2 separate regions of the Homo sapiens genome follow, and region 2 is linked to region 1. The links are contacts of gene promoters, found by promoter capture Hi-C in human tissues and cell types (Jung and others, 2019). All regions are on one chromosome and are shown on one strand. The core of a region is centred on a gene start or on the middle of the fragment in contact, and the rest is flanking DNA. Distances in the headings are between cores, read along the strand shown. Region 1 holds the start of YWHAB (tyrosine 3-monooxygenase/tryptophan 5-monooxygenase activation protein beta). Region 2 has its middle 24 kb from the start of SERINC3.

Region 1 (6,806 bases), core at 1-2,500:
GATTTTATGTTCATAGCATCATCTTGCCAAATTCCATCTCCCACACAGGGCAAGCAAAATCAGGACCTGATGCTATCTAGCCTTACCAAAGAGAAATGCAATGAAGGCAACGACAAGAAACATGTATTTTACAGAAAGGTTGGCAAATTGCTTACCAAGGCTGCCACCTCTGAAAACCCCATTATATGGGAGTTCTCCATTTGCGGCAAAGATGCACTCACCTTCCCACCTCTTCTTCCCTCCGCTCCCCACCCCCCGACCAGGAAGCCACCGGGCAAATTTCAGACCGAAAAACGTGCTAACACACAATATGGGGGAATTTGGGGTAAAGACACAAAAGAATCTGGCATTAAATGACGGTAAATACTGTGAGAAAATACTCCGATTCTCACCCCCTGATATTTTTTCCTGGGGATCCGGCCTGACTCAGTAACCGGCTCCAACAAACAGATTTTCTTGATTCAAACCCAATTCCCTTCCTAGGGAATCTTGGGTCCTGCCAGGCTCCATAACCAGTGAAGGATGATGAAATGGTTTTACTGCAAAATGGGAGGGGGTTCCCCCACTGCTGTCTCCCAAGGTTAAACCCCTTACTCATCCAGGAGGAGCCAAACACGGGGACTGGGGCTAGAAAACTCATCCGCGTTTGATTAAATTTTAATTTCTGGAAACCAGAAAGCACGGAGCAGAGGTGACAGGGCTGAAGGGGACGTTCTTGCCGACCAAGACGCAGGGAGGGGTCGCGTGGGGCCCGAAGCAGATAGTGAGGGAGGGTCCGGGATCCCCGGCTCCGCTGTCCCTTACGGCACAGTACGGAGTTGCACCCCGCCCGGCCGGCAGGACCTCAGGCGGCCCGAGCCTCTCCAAGAGGTAAAGGGCCCGGCCCCGGAAACAGGGAGGGGCCGCTGCGAGGTCTGGCCTCGCCGCCGGCGGCCGCGCGGAGCGAAAGAGGCAGCGCGCCGCTACCCCACGGGGCCCACCCACTGGGCCGCCGTCGTCGCAGCAGCCAGAGAGGGGCTTCGAGTTTGGGCCCCCGGGGGCCCCGGTCGGACCCCGCGCCGCACTCACCGTGGGAGGGCTGCAGGGAACAAAGACCCTTCCGAGCGAAGCTCCGAGCGAGATGACCTCTTCCTTCCTAAGCCCACTACTCAGGCGGCGGCAGCGGTGCCTGCAGTGGCTGCAGCGGCGGCGGCGGCGGCGACTACCCCGGCTCCGGAATCGGCGGCGGCGGTGGCGGTAGCTCCACTTCCGCTCCGATCGCCACTTCCGCTCCGGTCCTGGCCGCGCCCCGCCCCAAACCGTGTTCTCATTGGGCAAGCGAGGCACGGGGTTGCCACGGCCCCACGGGAGGGGCGCAGACGGAAGGGAGGAGGAAGAAGAGCGAAAGGCAGGGTTGCAGGGGCCGGGGCAGGGCGGATGGCCGGGGGAGGGACCCAGGAGGAGGTGGGCGGAGAAGAAGGAAATGGGGCGGGGGAGCGGGAAAAGGAGGTGGGAGGAGAGAGGGCGGAGCTGGGGGTGGTCAAGATACGGGCTGTGTGGGAATAAGGAGGACTAGGAGTGTGGTCTGGATGGGGATTGCCCTTTCTGCTGGGACTGGAAACGCGCCAGGGCCAGTCCCGGAGATTCGAGGTTTAGCAGTTCCCCCTCCACCCCGAAAGTAATCCTCACTGGGTCGGAGGCCGATGTCAGTCCTCTTACTGTGTGCTTTGGTAATGCTGGAGCCAGGGAAGAACAGAAATTGCTCATCCCTCAATGTTCATTTAATCCTTTCAATCCTTCAGGGTACTTACCTTTTCCTTCTTTGGTAGACTGAAGAGGCCACGTGAAGTGCCAGGAATCCAATGCACAAACGTCTTTTTAAAAAACCTGTGTAGGGTCGAGCGCAGTGGTTCGCGCCTGTAATCTCAGCACTTTGGGAAGCTGAGGTGAGAGGATTGCTTGAGGCCGGGAGTTGTAGGCTGCAGTGAGCTATGGTCATGCCACTGCACTCCAACCTGGGAGACAGAGTGAGACCCTGTCTCCAAAAAAAACCCACAAAAATCTGTGTACATGATTTCTTCTTTAAGATGCCCCCTCGTTGAGGAAGTTCAGGGAAGGAAACAGGCCTCCATGGCTCCCCTCCCCTCCATGACTGCTCTCACAATTACCAACATTCTACTCCTCTGAAGGTAGTTGATTTTGTTTTGTTTTGTTTTGTTTTGTTTTCTGTTTTTGAGACAGAGTCTCTTTCTGTCGCCCAGGCAGTGTCACAATCTTGGCTCACTGCAATCTCTGCCTCCCAGGTTCAAGCAATTCTCCTGCCTCAGCCTCCTGAGTAGCTGGGATAACAGGTGCATGCCACCACTCTCGGCTAGTTTTTGTATTTTTAGTAGACACGGGGCTTCGCCATATTGGCCGGGCTGGTCTCAAACTCCTGACCTCAGGTGATCCACCCGCCTCAGCCTCCCAAAGTGCTGGGATTACAGACATGAACCACCTCGACCGGCTTCAAGGTAGTTGATTTTTAAACTCAGTCCTTCAAAATGCCTCTCGCCTTCCCTCTCTCCTGTTCATTTATTCTTTCAACAAATGTTGAACAGGCTTTTTGCTTAGTGCTGGAGACACAGCAATGAACAAGGCAGGTGGGGCCCTGCTGTCTTGGAGTTTGCAGTCGGGTAGGAGAAAAAGCCAAGTAAATAGGCCTTTGCCGTCTTGCCTTTACCCTTACTTAGCTAAATGACAGACTTCTAATTCACCATTTGGTCTCAGCCTCGCCCGTCAACTGCCAAGTGATCTTTTAAAAATACCATTCTAATCGTGTCCTGTTCTTGCTTAAATTATTTAGTGTGCACTCAGACCTAGATGACAATATATAAGTTCCTTGAGTGTGACAATCAGGGTTCTCCAAAAGCTGCCCTTATCCTTTAGCTGCTATTTCTCCCCCATCGTAAATACCCCAATTCAATTGGATGATTCCTTACCCTCCCAATATGCCATCTCCAGTATTTCTAAGCAGTTTGACTTAGTTGCCAACACTTTTTTAAACTGAAAAGTTTCTGTGTGAACAGAAATCTGCCTCTCTGCCTTGTCTGGTAACACTGTGTCCACATTTCTGTGTGGCAACAATTGGCTGAAGCCAAGGAGTGGCTGCCTGTTCTAGACTGGGCATGGACTTTCCCAAATGCCAGGGACCCTTCTCGACCTGAGTCTGCTTTTGTCACTTATGTTATCTGTCATGTAGGCATGTGTGCCAGTGACCCCTGTACTGTGCCACCTTTTAAGTTGAACAAGATTGAGAACGTGTTGTGTAACGTAAACAGCATGGTTTTGGGTCAAAACCATTGGATTTGAATCCTGGAGAGGTTAGTGCAAAAACTTCCCCATGAGGATCGTCTTTGGCAGACCCTAGACCAGTAATCTAGAGACTACTCAGGCTAAGTAACTTTTAATGTCACAAGACTGTGCCTTATGCCGTCATCCAGAAAATAGCCTAATGGACCAGAGGGCTAATAATGATTATACCACAAATGACATCAACAGTGCATTGAGGGAACAGAAGTGCCCTTTGTCAGGCATTCCTAGGTGCCTGTTAAAGGGTTCAATGGATTAGCTTATTTCACCATCTCTGCATTCTAGGCCAAGCGTCAGCAAACCACAGCTATGAACTGACAGCGATACAGATAAATGTTAAAATACAATGTGGTAGGTGCAACCATAGAAATAAATATATGTGCAGGGTATTATGGGAGCTTGGGAGAAGAGCACCTAACCCATCTTGGGAATATGATGGGAGAGCAGGAAAGATTTCCTTAAAGAAGTGATACTAGAGCCTTATATACTGCAGTGAATCTTTTTTCAAATTATAGACTTAATTTTTAAAAATGTTTTTGTAGAGACAGAGTCTCATTATGTTGCCCAGGCTGGGCTCAAACTCCTGGCCTCAAGTGATTCTCCTGCCATGGCCTCCCAAAGTGCTGGGATTACAGGTGTGAGCCACTGTGCCTGGCCAATAGACTTAATTTTTTAGAACAGTTTTAGGTTTACAGAAAAATTGACCAGATATTACAGAGTTCCCACATTCCCTCTCCCTCCTCCACACAATTTCCCCTATTATTAACATCTTGTATTAGAGTGGTACATTTGTTGCAATTGATGAGCCAGTATTAATACATCATTATTAACTAAAGTCCGTAGTTTACATTGGGGTTCATTCTTTATGTTGTACATAGTTCTATAGGTTTTGACACATGCATAATGTCATGTATATAAATAAAAGTTTTACTGTCCTAAAAATCTTTGCTTCAACTCTTCATCCCTCACTCCCTCCCCTCACCCCAACCTTTGGCAACCGCAGACCTTTTACACTATAGTTTTACCTTTTCTAGAATGTCATATAGTTACATCATACAATATGTTGCTCGCTTTCTTTCTTTCTTTCTTTCTTTCTTTCCTTCCTTCTTTTTTTTTTTTTTTGACAGGGTGTCACTCTGTCACCCAGGCTGGAGTGCAGTAGTGCAATCACAGCTCACTGCAGCCTCGACCTCCTGGGTTCAAGTGATTCTCCCACCTCAGCCTCCCTAGTAGCTGGGACTACAGGCGTGTGCCACCACACCCAGCTAATTTTTGTATTTTTTATAGAGATGGGGTTTTGCCATGTTGCCCAGGCTGGTCTTGAACACCCAGGCTCAAGCAATCCTCTTGCCTTGGCCTCCTAAAGTGCTGGGTAATAAAGTGTGAGCCATTGTACCCAGCACATATGTCGCCTTTTCTGACTGGATTGTTTTATTAAGTAATGTGATTTAAGTTTCCTTCATGTCTTTTTATGATTTGATAACTTATTTCTTTTGATTGCTTAAAAAATCCCCTTGTATGAATCTACCATATTGTGTTTATGCATGAACTTATTCTTTTTTTTTTTCCAGAGAGAGTCTCACTCTGTTGCTCAGGCTGGAGTGCAGTGGCATGATCTCAGCTCACTGCAACCTCCGCCTCCCAGGTTCAAGTGAGTCTTGCCTCAGCCTCTCAAGTAGCTGAGATTATTGGTGTGTGCCACCATGCCTAGCTAATTTTTTATTTTTAATAGAGACAGGGTTTTGCCATGTTGGCCAGGCTGGTCTCAAACTCCTGACCTTAGGTGATCTGCCTGTCTCGGCCTCCCAAAGTGCTGGGATTACGGGTGTGAGCCACCACACCTGGCCCATTAACCTATTCTTAAGGATTGACTTGTATCCTCCAGAAAGATATGCTGAAGCTTTCACCCTTGGAATCTGTGTATGTGACCTTATTTGGAAAAGGGCTTTTGCAGTATAATCAATTAAAATGAGGTCATTCGAGTGGGTCCTAATCCAACGTGGCTGGTGCCCTAAAGAAGGAGGAAAATGCCATCTGAAGACAGGACACACATGGGAAACAACACATGACAATGGAGGCCGAGACTGGAGTGATGAGCTGTGAGCCAGGGAACACTAAGGATTGCTGGGCAGCACCAGAAGCCAGGAAGAGGCATGGAAGGATTCTACCCAGAGTCTCAAAGGGAGCAAGACTCTGCTGTCACACTGATTTTAGACTTCTAGCCTCCAGAATGGTGAGAGAATATGTTTTTGTGGTTTTAAGCCACCCAGTTTGTGGCCCTTTGTTATGGCAGGCTTAGGGAACTAATAGACCTACTGAGAGCTATCTTGATCCAGCTGTTGACAATTATGAAGAAAACCATGATAAACATCTGTGTGCAGGTTTTTGTTTGGGCATAAGTTTTCAACTTGTTTGAGTAAATACCTAAGAGTGTGACTGTTAGATTATACGTTAAGACAATGTTTAGCTTTGTTAGAAACTAGTAAACTGGCCAGGTGTGGTGGCGCGTGCCTGTAGTCCCAGCTACTCAGGAGGCTGAGGCAGGAGGATCGCTTGAGGCCAGGAGTTCTGGGCTGCAGTGCACTATGTTGCCTGGGCGTCTGCGCTAAGTTCAGCATCAATATGATGACCTCCCGGGAGCAGGGAACCACCAGATTGCCTAAGAAGGGGTAAACTGGCCAAGGTTGGAAACAGAGCAGGTCAAAACTCCCGTGCTGATCAGTAGTGGGATGGTGCCTGTGAATAGCCACTGTACTCCAGCCTGGGCAACACAGCAAGACCCCATCCCTAAAAAAACATTAAAAATAAAAATAGGCTGCCGGGCACGGTGGCTCACGCCTGTAATCCCAGCACTTTGGGAGGCCGAGGCAGGTGGATCACGAGGTCAAAAGATCGAGAACATCCTGGCCAACATGGTGAAACCCCATCTCTACTAAAAATACAAAAATTTGCGGGGTGTGGTGGCGCATGCCTGTAGTCCCAGCTACTTGGGAGGCTGAGGCAAGAGAATCACTCGAACCCGGGAGGCAGAGGTTGAAGTGAGCCAAGAATGTGCCACTGCACTCCAGCCTGGCGACAGAGTGAGACTCCATCTCAGAGAAAAAAAAAAAAAAAGGCCAGGCACAGTGGTTCATGCCTGTAATCCCAGCACTTCAGGAGGCCGAGATCGGTGGATCACCTGAGATCAGGAGTTCAAGACAAGCCTGGCCAACATAGTAAATGAAACCCTGTCTCTACTAAAAAAACAAACAAACAAACAAAAAACAAAAAAAATACAAAAATTAGCCACGCTTGGTGGCGGGTGCCTGTAATCCCAGCTATTTGGCAGTCTGAGGCAGGAGAATTGCTTGAACCTGGGAGGCAAAGGTTACAGTGAGCCAAGATCGTGCCACTGCACTCCAGCCTGGACAACAAACAGAGTGAGACTCTATCTCATAAATAAATAAATAAATAAATAAATAAATAAATAAATAAAT
Region 2 (6,806 bases), core at 2,236-4,735, 340 kb after region 1:
ACTGGGACCAAATGATAGCTTCAGGATATTGCTCATTTTGAGATAAAACTGTATCTTGTACGTGTTTTTTTGTTATCTGGGCATAGAGTGGGGGTTTAGTTTGTTTGAATAAGTAAGTCTATAAAAGTACAAGATGCTATAAATCACAAATACTAAGAATGCCAAAAGTTTAGTATCTGAAAAAGCAAAAATCAAACTTTTAAAAAGTCAAATCCAAAAGGCAAGTGGTAGTTTTAAAAGTTTTAAAACTTCCTGAGAATTTAAGTCTGCAGCATTGACTTTCTGATCTGGGTTTATATAACTCTCATACCCAGGGGATGTGACAGCTGATTTTCTTGTCCAAACAAACACTGCAGAAAATTATTAAAACCATCAGGGATATTTCATTTCTCTTCCCACAGTATCTAATTATTATCTCAGACAGATATATGTGTGTGTGTGTGTGTGTGTGTGTGTGTGTGTGTGTGTGTGTGTGTGTGGTGGGAGGAGTGGCTGGATGAATGTCCTACATAATTAGAATTCTTTATAGTACTAAGGAGAAGGCAAAGTGTTTTGAAGTCTTAAAAGAAAACTGATTTTCTAAAGAAATTCTGGCTTTAGGAAAGTAGCTAAGTGATGTGTGGATGACAGAGCTATCTTTAATTAGGAGTTGAGCAAATTGTTATAAGCAAAATCTAGACAAATAAAGATGCTGTTTATATTTCAAAGACGGGGAAACAGACTGCTACAAAACTTGTCCAACACAAATCCCCAGCAAATAGTTTTCCTTAGGAAAACTATTTTTATCCCTTTATCAACTTGGTTGATAAGTATTTCATTTTCAGTGCATATATGGACAAGCTACATAAAGTAAAATTGTTTTCATTATTTAAAAAACATTTTGCAAACGGAAACAAAGCCTATTGTCCTGTAATGTTTATTTGCTAGGCTGACAAATGACTCTGCCACGAATATTATGAAGTCTCAGAATGAGAATACACAGAAGGAATTGGCTTGACTCCCGAAAAAACCTCCAGAAACATGGTCCCTCCCTCCAGACTAGAAAACCACTCTGGAAAATTGTGATTAATGTTAATTAACCCAGAACATATTTACATATATTATTCCACTGCCTGTGTGGGATAAGATGCTACCTTTTTTGGGTTTTTTTGTTTTTCTAGACAGTCTTGCTCTATCATCCAGGCTGGAGTGCAGTTGTGCGATCTCGGCTCACTGCAACCTCCACCTCCCAAGTTCAAGTAATTCTCCTGCCCCAGCATCCTGAGTAGCTGGGATTACAGGTGCACAACACCACACCCGGCTAATTTTTTGTATTTTTAGTAGAGACGAGGTTTCACCATGTTGGCCAGGCTGATCTCGAACTCCTGATCTCCAGTGATCCGCCTGCCTCAGCCTCTCAAAGTGCTGGAATTACAAGTCATGAGCCACCATGCCCAGCCTATTTTTAATGGAGAACAGGGTTCTCCATTAAAACCAACACCATGTTGGTTAGGCTGGTCTCAAATTCCTGAATTGAAATGATCCGCCCACCTTGGCCTCCCAAACTGCTGGGATTACAGGAATGAGCAACCGCGCCCCGCCAATGCTATGTTTAAGATGTTATTACTATTCCCATTTTTTCCGACGAAGAAACTGCAGCTCAGAAAGGTCGGTGTCCAAAGTCACCAAGTTAGTAAGTGCCACAGCTCCCACATTCAGCTCCCACAAACTACGCAGGAGTGATAGTAATGGTGGTGGGAGCACTTAGGCTGTACTCACCATGTGTGAGGCATTGTTCTTCCCACTTTCCTATGTCAACTCAAGTGATCCTCAAGACAACTCCTATGAGGCAGGTTTGTATTTGGGCCACCAGCCTCCTCTTTCTCTACCCTGCTCACCACACATGGCCTGCTTCTCTCCCCACAAAATCAAAATCAGCATCCTGATGTCATCATATTCTCTCTACCCTTATCCTAAATCAAAATTTGCTCTAAAATGCTGGTAATTGTTGAAGCTTGATTATAGATAATGGAGGTTTCTTTATACCATTCTCTCTACTTTTGCTTATATTTGAAATTACCTTATAAACATTTAACATTTTTTGCTCCAACACGGAATGTAAGCTATTGAAAAGGCTACAAGACTAGCTCCACTGACAATGAATTCAAAGGAAGTGTTACTGAAGATGTCTATGCAATAATAGAAGACAGTGACATTGATTCATTCTCTCATTCCATGAACATAAATTGAGCACCCATTGTATGTTAGGATGTACAGAGGTCCAAGGAAGGACTCCTGTCCTCAACAAGCTAAGAGTTTAGTAGCAGACACAAAATAAACACAAAGGTAATTATGGAGGAGGACTATTTATGAGAAATGTTATAAAAAGAAAAGTTTGAAGTGCTATGTGATTTGGAAAAAGAAATAACATCAGGACAAATTCCATTACATTGAACTCCCTGAGACATTCCAAACTTCACATTATTTAAAATCAGTGAGGGGCCTGGGTGCAGTGGCTCATATCTGTAATCCCAGCACTTTGGGACGCTGAGACGGGTGGAATTACCTGAGGTCAGGAGCTCGAGACCAACCTGGTCAACATGGTGAAACCCCGTTTCTACTAAAAATACAAAAATTAGCCGGGAGTGGTGGTGCATGCCTGTAGTCCCAGCTACCCGGGGGGCTGAGGCAGGAGAATCGCCTGAACTGGGAAGGTAGAGGCTACAGTGATCCAAGATTGTACCATTGCACTCCAGCATAAGCAACAAAGTAAGACTCTGTCTCAAAAAAAAAAGAACTCAAAAAAACAAAAAATATACTAGAGAAGATGTCTCTGGAAAGAAGTTCACCAGGGCACAATTTATAATGACCAACAATAAGGCCTGGTGATATTCATTTCAATTGATACACAGTAACCCATACATAACAACTTAAGAAACAAAGTAGAAGTTCTCTCCTTGATGGAATCAGAACTAATAATGGTATAACTCATTTTTTAAAAAATACAGTTAAAGAGAGGAATCATTAAAAATGCATGTTTATTTTCCAAATACTGGCTAAGGGATGAAAGCCTCTCCTCTCCTCTCTCCTCTCCTTCTCTTCTCTGAGACAGGGTCTCTCCCTGTCACCCATGCTGGACTGCAATGGCATGATCATGGCTCACTGCAGCCTCAACCTCCCTGGGCTCAGGTGATTCTCCCACCTCAGCCTCCGAGTAGTTGGGAGTACAGGCATGCACCACCACAACCTGCTAATTTTTGTATTTTTTGTAGAGACAGGGTTTTGCTGTATTTCCCAGGCTTGTGTCTCGAACTCCTGGACTCAAGTAATCCACCTGCCTCAGCCTCCCAAAGTGCTGGGATTATAGACATGAGCCACTGTGCCCAGTGAAGGCCTTTTCTTGAGAGTAAGTTCAAGCAATTAAAGTTTCTGCATGAACTACACTCATGATGTACATCTATGATTTTCAGTTTTTACTGGAATGATACTTGTGAAGTGTTCTGAAGGCAGAAACATATATGTATATATATGTTTTGGAGACAGGGTCTTACTCTGTGTCCCAGGCTGGAGTAAGTACAGTGGCGTGATGATAGTTCACTGTAACTTCAAACTCCTGGGCTTAAGTGATCCTCCCACTTCAGCCTCCCAAGTAGCTAGGACTACAGGGACACACCACCACATCTGGCTAATTTTCTTTTTGTAGAGACGGGGTCTCACTGTTGCCCAGATTGGTCTCAAACTCCTGGCCTCAAGTAATCTTCCTGCCTCAGCCTCCCAGTGCTAGGATTACAGGTGAGAGTTACCCTATCTGTCAGAATCTCCATATTTTTATAATTTTTTTCTTCAATCTTTTCAGAGGTCTCTTCCACCCCTAATTTGACAAAAATATTTTTTCTTAGCCATTTGCCTTTATCAGGTAAGCACATTCAACTTATTTTTCATAAAAGCAGTATCTTTTTTCCTTTTTCCCTTTACATTTCATTGGTTAACATAATATTTAATTATTTTGTAATCACAATAATAAAACTAAACAGGCTGGGGAACAAACCCAGTTGATTCTTATTGATTGTCACTGTTAGCAACACATTATGAACAAATATTTATAATGCAGGCCGGGCATTGCAGGCGCAGTGGCTCACACCTGTAACCCCAGCACTTTGGGAGGCCAAGGTGGGTGGATCACCTGAGGTCAGGAGTTCGAGACTGGCCTGGCCAACATGGCAAAACCCTGTCTCTACTAAAAATACAAAAATTAGCTGGGCATGGTGGGGCACGCCTGTAATCCTAGCTACTCCAGAAGCTGAGGCAGGGGAATTGCTTGAACCCAGGAGGTGGAGGTTGTAGTGAACCAAGATTGTGCCACCGTACTCCAGCTCAGGCCACAGAGCAAGATTCCATCTCAAAAAAAAAAAAAAAAAAAAAAAAAAAAGAAAGAAGGAAGGAAAGAAAGAAAGAAAAGAAAAGAAAAGAAAGAGGAAAGTCAATGTAAAAACTGCAATTTTCTCCAAATACAGGGTATAGCTGACATTGTTGGCCGCCTCCTGTGGTGGGCACTGCCCACTTCCAGGCTTGTATCTATTTCTCATTCTTCCACAGCTGCAGAATCCCTGTTTTGGGGAATGGCAATGTGTACAGCTAAGAAACTGCATTTACCAGCCTTCTTCACAAGTAAGAATGGACAATGAGATGTAAACTGAACATGGTGGTTGGGACTTAGGGTACTTTAAAGGGTGTCCTCTGCCCTCCCCTTTCCTACTTCTTCCTGCCTCAAAGACCGTTTGGCTAGAGAGCCAGAGCCAACACGTGCGACCACTTGGTGACTGCAAGCTGTGTGATAAGCATGGTGAAACAGAAAGAGAGAAAGATCTAGGCTGCCTGATGGCACTGTGGAACTGCCATGCCAGGAACAGACTATCTACTTTGGACTTAATATTTTTTGAGAGAAAAATAACCTGTCTTCTTTAAAGCACTGTTATCAGCAGCCAACACAATTCCTCTTCGACCAATCTACTCAGCGTCCATTCACCTACTCATAGAAAAAAAAAAATTTTCCTAACAGAAACACAATTCTGTTTCTGAATGGTCTAGAGATAATTTCATCCCTCTTGTAAATGGCTTGTTCAAGAACCAGGCCTAAGCCCATCAGGGCATCACATTGCCCTACTAACAAAAATTGGCTCAGGAATGAGCATATGACCCAGTCCAGGCCAATGAGATTCTAGGGTAGTTCTCTGGAGGCTTCTGAGAAAAATTCTCACTCTAAGGAACAATCTTTTTTTTTTTTTTTTTTGAGGCGGAGTTTTGCTCTTGTTGCCCAGGTCGGAGTGCAGTGGTGTGACCTCAGCTCACTGCAACCTCCACCTCCCAGGTTCAAGCGATTCTCCTGCCTCAGCCTCCCGAGTAGCTGGGACTACAGGCGTCTACCATCACACACGGCTAATTTTTTGTATTTTTAGTAGAGACGGGGTTTCACCATGTTGGTCAGGCTGGTCTCGAATTCCTGACCTCAGGTGATCCACCCGCCTCGGCTTCCCACAGTGCTGGGATTACAGGTATTTTACGGGTGTAAGCCACCGCGCCCAGCCAAGACAATCTTTCTATTCCTTAGGTGGGTGCCATACATAAATCTGGGGCCTAGGCCTACTGCAGCTATTTTGCTGCTAGCCTGAGGAAGAAGCCAATACTCTAGGGAGGGCACAACCAAGAAAATCTTAGGGAAAGAAGCCTGTGACAGTAGATTAAGTGAACCTTGAAGTCTGTCCAGGACAAGTTTGGCTGTATCAGCCAAAACATATACACGTTGCAGAGGTCATCTCAGAAGCAATGGAGTAGGTGCTGAGAGTTATGCAAATATTTTGAGAAGGCCAAAGTCAGTCAGGTCTTCCCAGTGGGCATGCAAGACAGGGCATGCGGTCTTCAAAATATTTCTGTGCCCTTTCTGTACGAGGCCTGATAAAGAACTTACTATAGAGTAAGTTTGCAAATATTGAGTTATTTTAGAAGTGCTTTTTGAACAGGTTTTTGCAAAAAAAAAAAAAGTTTACTGTATAAGTGTGCACGTATCAAAGGCTTTACAGTAATAAACATAACAGCTGACATTTACATGTTAAGTTCTATCTGCCAAGACTGTGCTGAGCCCTTTATTTCATGCAATCCTCACAAGAAACAAGGAACTCTCATAATATCCACTTTACAAGTGAGGAAGCTCTGAAGCTTAGAAAGGTTAAGTATATTGTGCAGTAAGTAGAAAGTGCCTGGGCCAAGATGTGAATTCATGTCCAAAGGACTCTAGGGCCTCATTCCTAACCACAACTTTGTACTGCTTCCTTATGAATACATAAAAGCACAGCGACCATTTCTCTGAGAGTGCACTTCTTCAAAATATTCTGTTCTCCTAACCTTCCTAAGTATACTATACTTATCACACCACAAGTCCCAATTTTTTGGTTTATAAAATATAGCTGCTGGGCACAGTGGCTCACGCCTGTAATCCCAGCACTTTGGGAGGGTGAGGTGGGCCTATCACTTGAGGTCAGGAGTTCGAGACCAGTCTGGCCAACGTGGTGAAACCCTGTCTCTACTAAAAATACAAAAATTAGCTGGGTATTGTGGCGCATGCCTGTAGTCCCAGATACTGGGGAGGCTGAGGCAGGAGAATTGCTTGAACCCAGGAGGCGGAGGCTGAGGCTGCAGTGAGCCAAGATTACGCCACTGCACTCCAGCCTGGGAGACAGAGCTAGACTCCATCTCGAAAAAAATATTATAAAAGAAATTAAAAAAAAATATGGCCACTATATTTAATATGTACCATATATAACATGCAGAGA

The links. The method cuts DNA at HindIII sites, captures the fragments that hold promoters and counts their contacts. A contact is called where the count stands out against the background at its distance.
Region 2: a fragment that was not itself captured here is called in contact with the fragment with the promoter of YWHAB in region 1 in 1 of the 25 tissues and cell types used here (dorsolateral prefrontal cortex).

The regions. Positions count from the first base shown.
Region 1 is chr20:44,880,149-44,886,954 of GRCh38, reverse strand. YWHAB (tyrosine 3-monooxygenase/tryptophan 5-monooxygenase activation protein beta) reads right to left here and starts at 1,250. Exons shown (of 6, transcript NM_139323.4): 1 at 1,069-1,250. RefSeq lists silencers at 957-1,506, 1,567-1,626 and an enhancer at 904-1,520. The HindIII fragment of the contact is 9,752 bases long and covers 1-6,806 here.
Region 2 is chr20:44,542,528-44,549,333 of GRCh38, reverse strand. It overlaps a transcript of PKIG not described here. Among named protein-coding and RNA genes, the nearest start is that of SERINC3, 24 kb to the right of the region's middle. The HindIII fragment of the contact is 6,255 bases long and covers 358-6,612 here.